Regions from separate parts of the Homo sapiens genome. Here region 1 is linked to region 2. Evidence: promoter capture Hi-C in 16 types of primary human blood cells and fetal thymus (Javierre and others, 2016). All regions are on one chromosome and are shown on one strand. The core of a region is centred on a gene start or on the middle of the fragment in contact, and the rest is flanking DNA. Distances in the headings are between cores, read along the strand shown. Region 1 overlaps ADGRF1 (adhesion G protein-coupled receptor F1). Region 2 holds the start of TDRD6 (tudor domain containing 6).

What was found. The method cuts DNA at HindIII sites, captures the fragments that hold promoters and counts their contacts. A CHiCAGO score of 5 or more calls a contact.
Region 1: a fragment that was not itself captured here is called in contact with the fragment with the promoter of TDRD6 in region 2 in 1 of 17 cell types (M2 macrophages); the score reaches 5.9 in M2 macrophages.

Annotation. Positions count from the first base shown.
Region 1 is chr6:46,997,441-47,004,255 of GRCh38, reverse strand. ADGRF1 (adhesion G protein-coupled receptor F1) reads left to right here. Exons shown (of 15, transcript NM_153840.4): 14 at 2,689-2,755; 15 at 3,961-6,548. The coding sequence ends at 4,034. Among named protein-coding and RNA genes, the nearest start is that of ADGRF1, 41 kb to the left of the region's middle. The HindIII fragment of the contact is 4,098 bases long and covers 2,300-6,397 here.
Region 2 is chr6:46,686,376-46,692,849 of GRCh38, reverse strand. TDRD6 (tudor domain containing 6) reads right to left here and starts at 4,965. Exons shown (of 4, transcript NM_001010870.3): 1 at 1-4,965. The coding sequence starts at 4,721. TDRD6-AS1 (TDRD6 and SLC25A27 antisense RNA 1) reads left to right here and starts at 4,685. Exons shown (of 2, transcript NR_134643.1): 1 at 4,685-4,916. The HindIII fragment of the contact is 3,266 bases long and covers 2,560-5,825 here.

The DNA.
Region 1 (6,815 bases), core at 3,099-5,598, 310 kb before region 2:
CCCAAATGACAGATGATGAGAAGGTGAGAAAGAGATCACACTTGATGAATATTCCTGCCAAGAAACTCGCTGGTGAGCAAAATCAGCGAGATTGGTAACCAGACGTGGACCCAGCACAGCAGTGACAGGCTAGAGTTGAAGTTGCCAGGATGTGACAAGTTCATATGTTGGGAGGGGTGAGCCAGTGAAGAGACTCTGAAAACAAATAAGAGAGAGACTGAGGATAATGGGCAGAAGAGGACTCCTGGGAAGACAGAGGGATTGGTCGGACTGAAGATGGAGGGATTTGCTCCTTAGCTTGACACAGGAAGTACCACATTGATGCAGGAGGAGCAACATGTATAAATTGGGATTCTAGGTGAAAAAGTATCTGAGACAGGTCTCAATCAATTTAGAAGTTTGTTTGCCAGGGTTAAGGATCATGAGCCATGACACAGCCCCAGGAGGTTCTGAGAATGTGTGCCAAAGATGGTTGAATTACAGCTTGATTTTATACATTTTAGGGAGACATAAACATCAGTCAGTACATGCGAGGTATATCTTGGTTCAGTCTGGAAAGATGGGACAACTCGAAGTAGGGACAGGAGGGCTTCCACGTCATAGATGGATTCAAAGATTTTCTCATTGGCAATTGGTTGAAAGAGTTAAGTTATTATCTGAAGACCTGGAATCAATAGAAAGGAGTTTCTGGGTTAAGCTAAGGGGTTGTGTAGACCAAGGTTCTTTTTATGTACCTGAAGCCCTTTGATGCAAGAGATGCAAATGTTTTCTATTCAGACCTTTTAAAGGATATAGACTCTCAGCTAATCTCTTCAGGATCAGAAAAAGATCTAGAAAGGGAAGGGAATTTTCTACAGAATATAAATTTCTTCCACAAGAGACAGCTTTGCAGGGCCATTTCAAAATATGTCAAAGAAATATATTTTGTGGTAAAATACTTTGATTTCTTTCAGGACCTATCTGTTGCATGATGCTATGCTAGAGTTTGGTTGGAATTTGGTATCTTATTGCTACAAAAGATTTGTTCTATCAGTCTTAAGATCTCAGTTTTGTGTCTGAGCTCCAAAGGGAGAAGACTACAATGAAGCATGTCTGACCCCCACTTCCCATCATAACCTCAACTAGTTTTTCAGGTTTCTTTGAAATCTCCTTGGCTGAGAGGGGGGATCCATTCAGTTGGTTGGGGGGCTTAGAATTTTATTTTTGTTTACAGTGTCATGATATAGAGAGTTCGAACCTTGATACTTTTTTTGTTTGTTTTTCTTAAGTAATGGACAAGGCTATCCTCTGAGAGATAGCTAAAGGAGGAGTAAAGTAGGGATCCTGAACAGAGCAGTGAGACTATGATAGTTGACTGAAGGGAATGAAAGAAGAGCCAGCAATAGTCTCAGCAAGGACCATCCTTCAAGCCACAGCACACTGTATGGACCCCAAATCTTCTCCATGCTCAGGCCCCTGTCTTGACCCTCCATTGTCCCTAGGCATGTTCTCTGTAACTCTTCTCCAAGTCACAGACTCTGGTGGCCTCAATGGACCCCCCTCCACAAAGAATAGATTTACAGACCTACATCTGAGTTCCAGTAACTCACGGCCTGTTATTTGGCTAAGTGTTTCGACCCATATAACTTCACACACCTGAAGAGGCTACTTCTTCCCAGACCACAAGGAAGTATATTGAGTATGTTACAACCTAAAATTCCTATCTCCAAATGGTACAGGATGCAATTTTAAGTGCCATGATCCCTGACCTTATGATTTTTTTAAAGGTTTATAGCATTAAATGTTTGCTGAGCCCTGAATTCTAGAAAATTAATTATTTTGCTTTGAAAGTTTCAAATATTTTTAATTCTTATTTTTGTAGCTTTTTTTTTTCAGAACTCAGTGTGCCTTAATACCAGTGAAAATTGAAAAACTATCACTGGTCTATCTACTGAATATAATAAGAACATGTTTTTCCCACCTTGGTTTGGTTTCCTTGTGGCATAGACTGTAGCAAGGAATGGAAGTTTTCCTTCCAATATTCCCAGTGCCAGAACAGCATCTGGCACACAAAGGCATTCAATATGAGATGGTAAATTAATGGACAAATGAATGATGAACTAATGAGTAGAAAAATATATAATGTATGTAAACACATTTATCTTTCCTGATAAGTACATGCTCTTTGTTTCAAATATTTTATTTAATTTTATAATTCAGCTGTTAAATTATTGAACTCTATATAGCCTCTGTAGCAATGACCAAAGCGTCATTCAAAAGTAGGTTTGAGAGCTAAGATGAGCAAGAGTAAAGCAAAGCTTTGTTGAGAATCATTTTTAGTCAGAGCACTGTTTTTCCTCCATTTTCCTCCATGGGTTTCTCTTCCAGTAACAAATGTGATCCAAAGAAATGTAAGCATAGACATGAAAAGGGATAATGCCGCCTTTAAAACTGTTTTCTAGTTTGTTGTTAGAAGTTATAAAAATACACAGGAACACAGCATTCACTTGAAAATAAATTTTTAGGCATTTTAAATAGATTAAAGCAGAAGAAAGAGTGAGAAAGTAACCATTCTAAATTCTTAAAAAGAGAATAGCACCTATGAAAATGAAATAAAGAATCATGAATAACATCAGGAAGTCAGGAAATGCAGACCAACAGTAAAAGAATGCTATTAATGTCCAAATGACTTATTTTTATTTTGTGCAGCAAAACTCATCAGATTTATCTGCCAAACCCAAATTCTCAAAGCCTTTCAACCCACTGCAAAACAAAGGTGAGTTACAATAAAACCAAAGGTTATAAAAGGTGTGAAAAGAGTATATGAGTATATCATATGAATAAAATTCAATGGCAACATGTAAGAAACTCATGTGAGAAGTGTGGGATTATCAGCCAGCCATGTTTTCAGAGTTCATCCAGACCGTGCTCAGGGCTGACAGAACAATGTAGGTGACTTGATGCTCATGGAGAACCAGAGAGTGTCTTTATGTAATGTCATCACAAATTATCTCTATTTCCCAAGTTTGACATTAGATAAATCTGTGGCATTGATCATTGAGGCCTTGAAGGGAAGGAGTGTGGTTAGACTAACACGATTTATGTCCTTATTGGAGAATCACCCCTTTGTGCCAGCTGCCAAGCAGTGGGCACGCGGCCAGGTGCTTGTGCCCTGATGTTGCACATGTCCTCCTCCCTAAAATGCCCCTGGGCAGGAAGGGGCCACACCTGCTAAGAGTGAAAGAGCACTGTCTCCTCCACCTGTGACATGCACTGGCCCTATGTTCATTGATTGGCGGTTACTAAAGTCTGTGCTATTGAGCAACTGCAAGACCAGTGTTTAAACATTGCAAGTAGCCACAGCATTCTTGGAGGAGAGAGAAGGTTGGAACATGGAAGTGGAGGAGGAGACATTGCCTTACAAGCTAAGTTGAAACCATGCTTAAGAGTTAAAGTCCCATTTCACATTCAGTTATGTTAATGTCATCATTAATGTAGGAAACTCATTTTATATTCCCATTGAAATTATTCAAATTCCAGATAAAGTTCAAGTGTCTGGAGAATGTGCTTGTCCCGGACCCTTGGGTTCTGTTGTTATTGCCACCAGTCAGCTTGAGCGCTTTTTTACAAGTCTCTACCTTTTGGGGACATTTGTTCCTCATCTATAAAATAAAAAGCTAAGAGATTACTAAGATTCTTCCAGCAATAACATATTGTGATCTCAATCTACTTTATGTCATTTCCCAGCAATATTTGAAAAACATGATATTTCTCAAATAAGTGATACTTGACAAATGCAAGCCTCTGGGGTGTTGGTGAAATGCTATTTCTCTCCACCAACCACAGTCTTTTTGTCTTTACCTAGAATCTTTTAAAAACTGTTCCTAGTTGTGAAATAATCTACAGGCTAATTTTCATTTTGGTCTCATGCTTGATTTCAACAGAGTAACAATAATTATTTCCTTTTTTTTTCCCCTTCAGGCCATTATGCATTTTCTCATACTGGAGATTCCTCCGACAACATCATGCTAACTCAGTTTGTCTCAAATGAATAAGGCAAGGAATCATAAAATCAAGAAAAAATTTCCAGAACAACTTGACATTTAGAGACAAATGTCAATGAAGAAATTATGCTCAGTATTCGATCGGGTTTTCTGATTTAGGGGTCTGGGAATAAAACAAGAATGTCTCAGTGGCTTCATTACTGCTCCCTTTTGTCTTCAATTAAATGAAAAGAAGATTTATTTCCATGTGATTTGATTCAAAGAAAGTGCTCCATAAATGCAGAAGAGTAGGTTTTGTTGGAAATCGTGTCAGTTGTACCCTGACCATAAAATATGGTTTCTATTTTCATAAAACAGCATTATTCACATGGCATTTCCAATAATCTGGATTGAAGGAAGAAAATTTTATGAAATAGCTTTAGATAAATTAATAGGCCACGTTCATTTTCTTGTCAAAAAGTTACTGGTGGGGGGATGGTGGGAAAAAGTTATTAGTGCAAATTTCCTAGAGAAAAAACCATTTCTCTTTCAAATTTTCCAGTTGAATTTTATGTTCGCTTTTGCTTCTTAGGTTCTATCACTTAATATTGAAAGTTAATCAGAAATAAAATGTAAACTTCTATTTCAGATAGCTTTGTAACCATTTATCAGAAAGTATAATAATGTGATATGATATATAATGTGGTATTTTTCAGTTTACAAGGCACTTCCATCTGGTCCTAAACCCTGCAAACAAAAGTGTCAAGGCAGACCTAGTGCAGAGATGAGGGCATGGGGGCTCAGAGAGGTAAAGTGACTTGCCAAAGATTGTGAAGCCAGTTAAGGGAAATTGGGGATTTTTAGGACATTTGTCTCCCAGACCATTTCTACAGCCAATAAAAGCCTTGAAAATTACCTACATCTCTAGTAAATCTTTCTGAGGTCAGTTACACAGTTCACCATTCCCAGAATTCTATGTAAGAGAGAAATTAAGGGAGAATTTGGTTGTCAGCTTCCAGGGAGGTACCTTAAAACATCCTTATTTTCTTTCATAATACACCATAGGCACTTTGTGGAAGTTATTTTCTTGTACAGCCAGTGCCACTTTTGGATGACATACAAAGCAGCAGGAGTTGACGCTATGTGAAGCAACACTTCTCTTCCATACTTCCATCACATTTGGCTCACCTACCTGAGTTTCAGCCGTGACCATAGTGCCCAGAGGAACCCGAGCCTTTGATTCATCCTTGCTGTTTTGAGAGGCCTAGGGAGTGTCTCTTAGCCTCCTGACATGGAAAGCCTTCATGCTATGCAAATAAAGACAGCTGGGGGAACTTCTAGTTAGTGGTGGTAGATTAAATAAGCATACCTGAGAGAAATTCAAAGTTAGACTTCCACAAGGCACCAAGGTGCAGCACACATGAAATATGAAAGTGAGAGGTTCAAAGGAAATGACTGAGGATCAGTTAGATGGTTCTATACCCCACAAATATGTATGAGAGTCAACAGAATTTTATGAGAAAGACTTCTTTGCAGAAAACTGCTCTATGAGCCTTCTCACTCTACCTACCCACAAAAGTGAGAGAAGGAGGAATGTCTGCTCCTTGACCTCAAATTTAGTGAGAGAAGATTTCTCAGATAGCTCAGATAGCTCAGATTTCTCAGAACCACAACAATTAGGATGCATGGCTGATGGAAGTCTGATTCTTGCCTAGAATTGTGGCCACAGCTCCGGTAGTAGAGCCCTGAATGAGTTCTGTGTTGAGAATAGCCTGTATGTCTAGTGTTTGTCAGGGCAATGGATGTGTGTGTTTCCCATGAACCATAGTGAGACATGCAAGAGTGAAGGTCAGCATGGGGCTCTTTTAGGTCCTCTCTGATAGGGTTGTCCAAAGAGGTGGAGGGAACCCAGCATCAAGAAGTGGGAGGTGAAGCCAGATTGTGGGATGAGGAAGGAGTCACAAATGACCACCTGGAATACAAAAAAATCTACACAAGCTAAAGATGAGAAGTCAGGGCTATGAGAATTTCTATGGGAGTTCTTGAATGCTCCCTCTCTTATTACACACAATTACTATCCAGAGAACCCTGACACCATGTGAAGGCAGCCCTATCTCATAAGACAGATTTCTTTTTTTGGGGACCTTGGGGAAAGGGAGGCCAGAAACCTCCGTGTCCAAGGTGGGGTGGAAGGAGAGGGAGAAATCTTAGCAAAAATGTCAACCAGCAAGGGAAGATGTGCTAGCGCAAGTAGGCAACTCAACACAAGACTCAGTTGGAGAGGGAAGAAAAATTTAGTACTAAATTATTGTAGTTTCTTCTTATTGTAGGCGACTGGGAGTCATAATTACCAAACTATTTAAAATGACCAAAATGTTGCTCTTACCTGAGTATGTTGGCATACAACTGGAATGTATCTGATGGAAGAAAAAGCTTCTCCCACTGAATAAATTTTATGAGGATGATGAGAGACAAAAAAATGTTTGATCAGATATCATGTATGTGCATGCTTGTCTAATTCACTGATTATGCATACATTCACCTCAAAATGCTACTAAAACAACAATAAAATAATGAAAAAGTGAATAGCATTGTAATAATTTTCTATTGCTGTGTTTTCTATTATAATAGTTTATTCCATTTCTGTTATGATAGTTTTTTATTGCTGCATATAAAATTGCTGCAAACTCAGCAGCTTAAAGCAACACACATTTATTATCTCAAAGTGGTCATGGGTGGATTCCATGCACAGCTAAGCTTGTACTTTGCTCAGGGTTACACAAGGCTGTCATCAAGGTACTGGATGGACTGTCATGTCATCTGGAGGTGCAGGTGGGGAAGAATTCACTTCTG
Region 2 (6,474 bases), core at 3,716-6,215:
CAAGGATCTCCAATATAAGGACATGGGATACAATTTCTCCTGTCTGCTACCTGTTCTCCAGCAGTCTGTACTTCTACTTCTAAACACTGAAGTTTCTCCGTATCAGCAAACTGACACCAAAAGTACTCAGGTCCATCTATCACAGTGGCATAAGCTCTTATCATTTTTTTTTCTGGATTATACCAGTTAAGAAATACTGAAGTGTCAATGTCTGATTTGTTAACAGACTTTGAACTGGCACTTTTAATTACTTGGGTAGAAAGTTCTACTTGAGATTTTTCACTGAGAGCATACCTGCTAATCATATCATCTGCTATGATCCCATGTTCATCAGCAAGAATAACTTCCCATCTGTCTTGAAATTTAACAAATTCACATCTTATTGCAGCCTCGCTGGTCCGTTGGGAAAAGTAATGCATCATTTTCTTAGAATTTTTATTGTCAGGAACCTCAAATCCCTGCAAGGAGCAATGAATGCACAACCCCGGCAATATTGCATTAACAAGGTCAAGCCTACCTATTTTGTTAGTATGAACCACAGAAACATTGCCATAATCTATAAACTGCACAGAGAGAAGGTCATTGGGTTGTTGCTCCTTGATCACAGCACGATACCATAAATTATCTTCTGGGAAAACAGCACATATCATATCTCCTCTTTGCAAAGGTGGACCTACATAATATTCGGGCCTTGTTTTAACACTGTTTAATCTCTCTGAAAGATGACTAATTTCAGCTTCATCTTCTATTAGTTGAACATAAAAGTCTGAAAGGTCATTTATATGAGAAACATATACAGTTGTTTTAAATCCAGGCATTATAGTCTTCTGTGGGAACTCACAAAATTTCAGAGGCAAATCTTTGTCACATGAATCTCCTATTTTTCTCTCTGAAAGAGTAGCTTCTACTCTTGCTGTTTTCAAGGGTGTCTCAGCAGAAATTTCTTCTTTCTTTTCTGTTGTTAATGGAAACACTTGACTATTTTTATTTCCCACAGAGTCTTGATATTGAGTGACTAAGTTTGTTTTTGTTAAACTTTGTAAAAGTTTGAGTTCCTTGTATGATGAGTTGATCTGAGGTTTATATGACTCTTCCAAAATTTCTTTATTAGGTAACTTGTACCCTACTGATTTACTTAAATACTCTGTACATGGCAACTTCATATTCTCATTTTTTTCTTCAAGAGTTTCAGTTGTAGAACAGAGGACTTCACTTTCTTTTTTTCTTATTCTATCTTTGTAACTAAGTAGCCCCAACTTCTTATTAATACTAGCACTAATTTGAATATTGTCACCATATAGTTCTATAATCAGTGTTCCATCTGGATCTTTTGCTACAACTAAAGCCTTCAATGACTTATCTAAAATAGTCTCCTGAAACCACACCACCACTTCTTCTGGTATATGATCAGGAATATCAGATAATGAACATCTGACAGCTTGCATGGGCAAAAGTAAGACATCATATGCATCACTAGGTATTGGAAGCAGATCATCACTTGTTACTACATAAATATTCCCAAAATCAACAAAGAAGACTTTCTTTGGCTCTTTCTCTATTACTATGCCCCTATACCAGTTTCCATCAGTATACTTGGCAAGGCACAAGGTTCCAGGGTTCAAGGGAGATGTTTTTAAATTCAGCAAAACTTTACTTAATTGTGTAATACTACATGACAACTGTTCTAAAATATTTGCATTTCTTGCCAGCTGGCAATAAAATGTCCAAGGGTCATCAATATGCGTTATATAAACTAATTCTTCACTTCCAATTTTCATATCATGTGTAGAATAGAAGTAGGAATGTAGCTGAACAGAGGACTCCAAAGGCTTCTGAAGTTTTACTGGTCTTGCAAGTCTCTTTTCTACCAAGAAATGGCATGCACTCTGAAAGGGGGTTAGCAAATCCACAATGTTAAACAGTTCTTCATTAATTGAAGCCAGAGCAAATATTGTACATTTTAATTCTAGATTTTTTTGCCATGCATTATCTATAAATTCATTGAAAGCTTGTATTGCCTTTACATCCCAAACAAAGGGATTCTGGCCAACTGGTTGAATTAAATTATAAAGACTGCACCTAAAAGCCTGTGCCTTAACCTTCAGAAATTCTTCACTAATTGAATAAATATTCTTCACAGATACCATTTCTCTGTCTCCATAATCTACAAATGTTACATTGACATGCTCCACAGACTGTATCCCACTAATAAGTGCTCTGGACCACTGTCTGTTTACTGTTCGCTTAGCCAAACAAGCAAGGGTGTTTCTCTGGTGAGGAGCAGCTGTATTTTTGCAATAGTACTGAATATCAGACATTAGAGTTTTAAGTCCTTGTATGTTCCTGGTCAGCTGACACCAGAAATAGCCAGGGTTTTCAACATAAGACACTCTGACTTCTACTGTACTTCCAACTTCCAGCTCTCCTTTACTAGAGGAGCCTGGCTTAATTTCCAAGCAATTCTGCATAAGAGGAAAATAAACAGATGCTCTTTTCACTTTTTCCTGCACAACTAGTTCAGTTGAACCATTTGTTACAACTGTTGTGTCACTCAAAGCTTTTGAAACAGATGTGGTTTTATTCTCTCTCTTGGCTTTCTGCTCTCCTTCTCCAGTCTTGGCAAAAGGTATTTTGTTACTCTCCGTAGTAAAGTGGTTTGAAACATGCCCTGGGGAGTGGGCATTTACCAGGATATTTTCCTTTGTTTCAAATTCCTGATACTTGGCATATCCAGCTTGGGCAATTACCTTACTAATGTTTTCTTCCCCTGTTCTTGATTCGTCAAGAATCTCAATAACATATTGATGATCCTGTTTATCAAGAATATGGATGACTAATTCTTTGTGGAGCACAGTCTTTTTAAAAAAGGAAACTGCCTCCTGGCTCCAAGTTTTTCCCAAAGGCCAAATATCAGCCAGGGTGCACTTCACAGCCAATATTGGTAGCTGCCTAAACTGAGGAAGCAGCATCCTTACGTCATACCAGTCCACATTTTCCGAATTGCCTCGGTCAACTAAGAATACATCCACACTCTTGTCATCCAATTTGGTGACTATGGCCCTATAATAACCATTTTCTTTCCACTTGACACAGCAAAGGTCATCAGGTTCAGGTTTCAAAACTACACCATCCAGCTTACTGGCAGAGGAATAGAAACCACACATTCTCCTCATCAGCTTACTGAAGGTGACATTGTGTTTCCTCAACCTAATCCAAAACTCAGAAGGATTTTTAACAAACTCTACCTGCGCATCGTAGAAGGCATTCATCTTTAACCTGATAGATCTTAAGGCTGGGAGTGAAATCTCTTCATCTACTTCTTCAGCAGGAGACTGAGACTGAGATGTTTCTGGTTCCTCCTCCTCTGTTGCCTGGCTCTGAAGGACTCGGTCAGCCAAGCAACACGACTGTACTCCAAACACACGGTTCAGATTAATCCCATCTTCTCCATACAGGCTGACATAATACACATGCTCAAAGGAGCAATAAAATTCAATCTTTGCATTCACTGCCTTGCCTAGTATCAGTGTCTTCAGGTCACCGACCTGTGACCGAGACCAGCCTCTCCCACCGTCCCAGAGTCCATACAAAGCACAAGGGTAGGTCACCACCGGCATTCGAAAATATTCAGGCAGCAAGTACCGAAGGCTGCTGCAACTCACTAACTCCTTCCTTCCATAGTCCACATGAAGCACCTGGGCACAGCGCTGGGGCCGAAAAGTCTCAAGCAACAGTGCTCTGTACCAATGTCCATCCAGGCCACAGGATGCACACGGAGAGCCCGGCTTATCTGGGCTCTCCTCCCTCTCCTCCCAGGTGGCACTGGTAGAGTTCTCATCCCCTGTCCCCGTGGAACCCCGGTATACCTGGGCCATGCTCTCGGAGAGGCGGTGGATCTCCTGCGAGACGCTGCGGAGCTGGCAGTGAATGCGGTGGGGATGGCACACTTGGGTTATGACCACGGCCTCCGTCACGCCCAGCTGCAGCTGGGGATAGAAGTAATCCAGACCAGGCTGCTTTTGCTTGAGCGGGACTCGCGAGAGAACCGGGACCCCGGAGCCCACGCTAGCAGTGGCCGCTGTGAGATAGCGCTCCAGCAGCGAACGGAAGAGGCTGTCGGGCACCCGCCGAGCCAGGCCCAGCTCCCGCATCTGTTGGAACACATCAGGCACCTCCAGGAGGACCAGGCGATGGAGCAGCAGCACGTCCAGGACGCACCCGTGCACCTCCTTGCCCTGAAGGTTGCTAAGGAAGTCCACGGCGTCGGCGGGCCAGTGCTGCGGCGGCTCGCCTGAGCCCGCGCCGCAGCCTGCCGGCACCAGGCCCGCTAGCACGCAGCCCAGCACTTCCGAGGGCAAATTGAAGAACTCTCTGCGCCCAGGCGCCAGCGAGCCTGCTCCGGCCGTGATGGTGCGGCCCTCGTCCAGCAGGAAGACACGGCTCTCCTGTGCCTGCCGGCTGACCACGCGGCAGCGGTGCCACAAAAGCCCGACCTGCACCAGGCACAGCTCGCCGGGCGAGGCCGAGGCGCTGCCCAGCGCCCACTGGCCGCGCGTGGCCGCCGCTTCCTGGATTTCCCGGCTCAGCCGCAGGTACTCGCCCCGCCGCTCGCCCACCAGCCCCCACAGCTGCACCGGGATCACATCGGGATGCACGTCCACGAAGGACACCCGCAGGGCCAGCGAGGCCCCCGGCGCCGGCATTCCGGGCGTCGAGCACATCTTGACGGCGCGGCGCGGCCCCCACTTCCGGAAATTAAGGGCCGCGCCTCAGGGCCTCGAAATCCTCCGCGCCGCCTGAAGGCGAGTCCCAGCCAAACTAGGTTCAAAGGACCCAGTGGAGGGGAAGAATGCCGGCGAGGCCTTTTCTCGGCAACTCCCCCGTCGAGGGTCCTCCGGGACTCCCGCCACGGACTGGTAAGACCCGGTAGCCCCTCCAACCGCCCGAGGTCGCGCTTCCGGGCACGCATTTACCTCACTCGGCGCCGCCACTTCCGGCCGCGGAGAGTGGGCGGGGCCAGCCGAGGCCTGGGGTTGGCCTAACGCCTAAGGGCCCAAGGAGCTTGTTGGGACGTTCAGGAGACCCCGAGGTGGGAGGTTTTGGACACAACCTGCATCTCCTCAGAGCGCCTTCGACTCTGGAGGCCGCCGTGTGACGGCCTGACACAGGGCTGCGGTGAGGACCGACCAGAGAGGGATTTCCTTTTCGTCCTCCCAACTACCAGGGATTGAGCACTGGGGGCCAGGCAAGGTACTAGCCAGTGGCGTTCCCGACGGGAACGAGAAACGCAGGAGCCAATGGCACGTTCCTAGGCGTTAAGGCCGGAACTCTAGGAGGGCCCTGGGTGCTGCTGCGGGGCACGGGTGCTCCTGCTGGCTCAGTGTGTCCGTGGACAGCCAGGTGCTCAGCCTCTATTCTTTAACCCTGTTCCATCATCTGAATTGATAAGAGTTGTTATGAGGTTAAAATAACGTGTGAAAGTATATAGCAACTGGTACATATTTCCCTTCCCACACTTAGCTGATACGGGTTCCTTTGCTCCTTTGCTGTCTAACTCTGGCATCCCAATTTTGAAGGCATTTTCATTTACTCACAGAGCTAGCACAGAACTGGATTCATAAAAGGAGGCCAAGAGGAATGGAATCAACATTCCTTCAAGCCCCTGCTGTATATACTAAAATCTTAACAGGATAACCCTTTGAGGCCTCTGTTAAATGTCCAAACCTCCATTTGGAATGGAAAAGTGCAGGCAAACTAGAAGTTTCCAGGATATGTCTACATTAGATTTTTGTTCATTTGCAAAGTTAGACACATCCGTGGAAGCTTCTTATAGTCTGCCTGTACTTTTCCTTTCATTCCACGTTTCGAAATGTCATTACATACAAATACAACAAGGCAGTGCTTCAAATGACCCTGGCCTAACTGTAAATCTCAGTGTCTTCAGTCTGTCCAGATTAGAGGCAACCATGTGCTTCCACATCACCCTATGCTTACTTTTTCACGGCACTTTTCACATTGTGTGGCAACTGTCTGATCTCTATCATCCCACCAGCCGACAGGTTCCCTTTGGCAAGTACCGTTTGTTGGATTCTCGGAATCTAGCTTGGAGTGAAGGCAATGAATATTTGCTAAATGAATATGAATGAATGAATGAATGAATCCAATTTCTCTAAAAGCCAAAGCTTTTCTTTTCCTGAAGAACTCATCCTTGAAAACTCAATTTTCCCATTTTTTTTCTAATTGTTTCATATTCATTATGGAAGAAAAACATTTTATTTAAAAACATCTAGCAAGACCTAGCTCAAACGTCGTTTCCTCGTGACCCTACTATTCAACCTGGCAGAATTGGTTATTCCTTTTTTTTTTTTTTTTTACATACTTCTATATTATTATATTTTGTAGCTCTCTGTTTGCCACAGTAGGAACATCTTAAAAGCAGGAACACTTCTCATTTATTTTTATGTTCTCGATGCC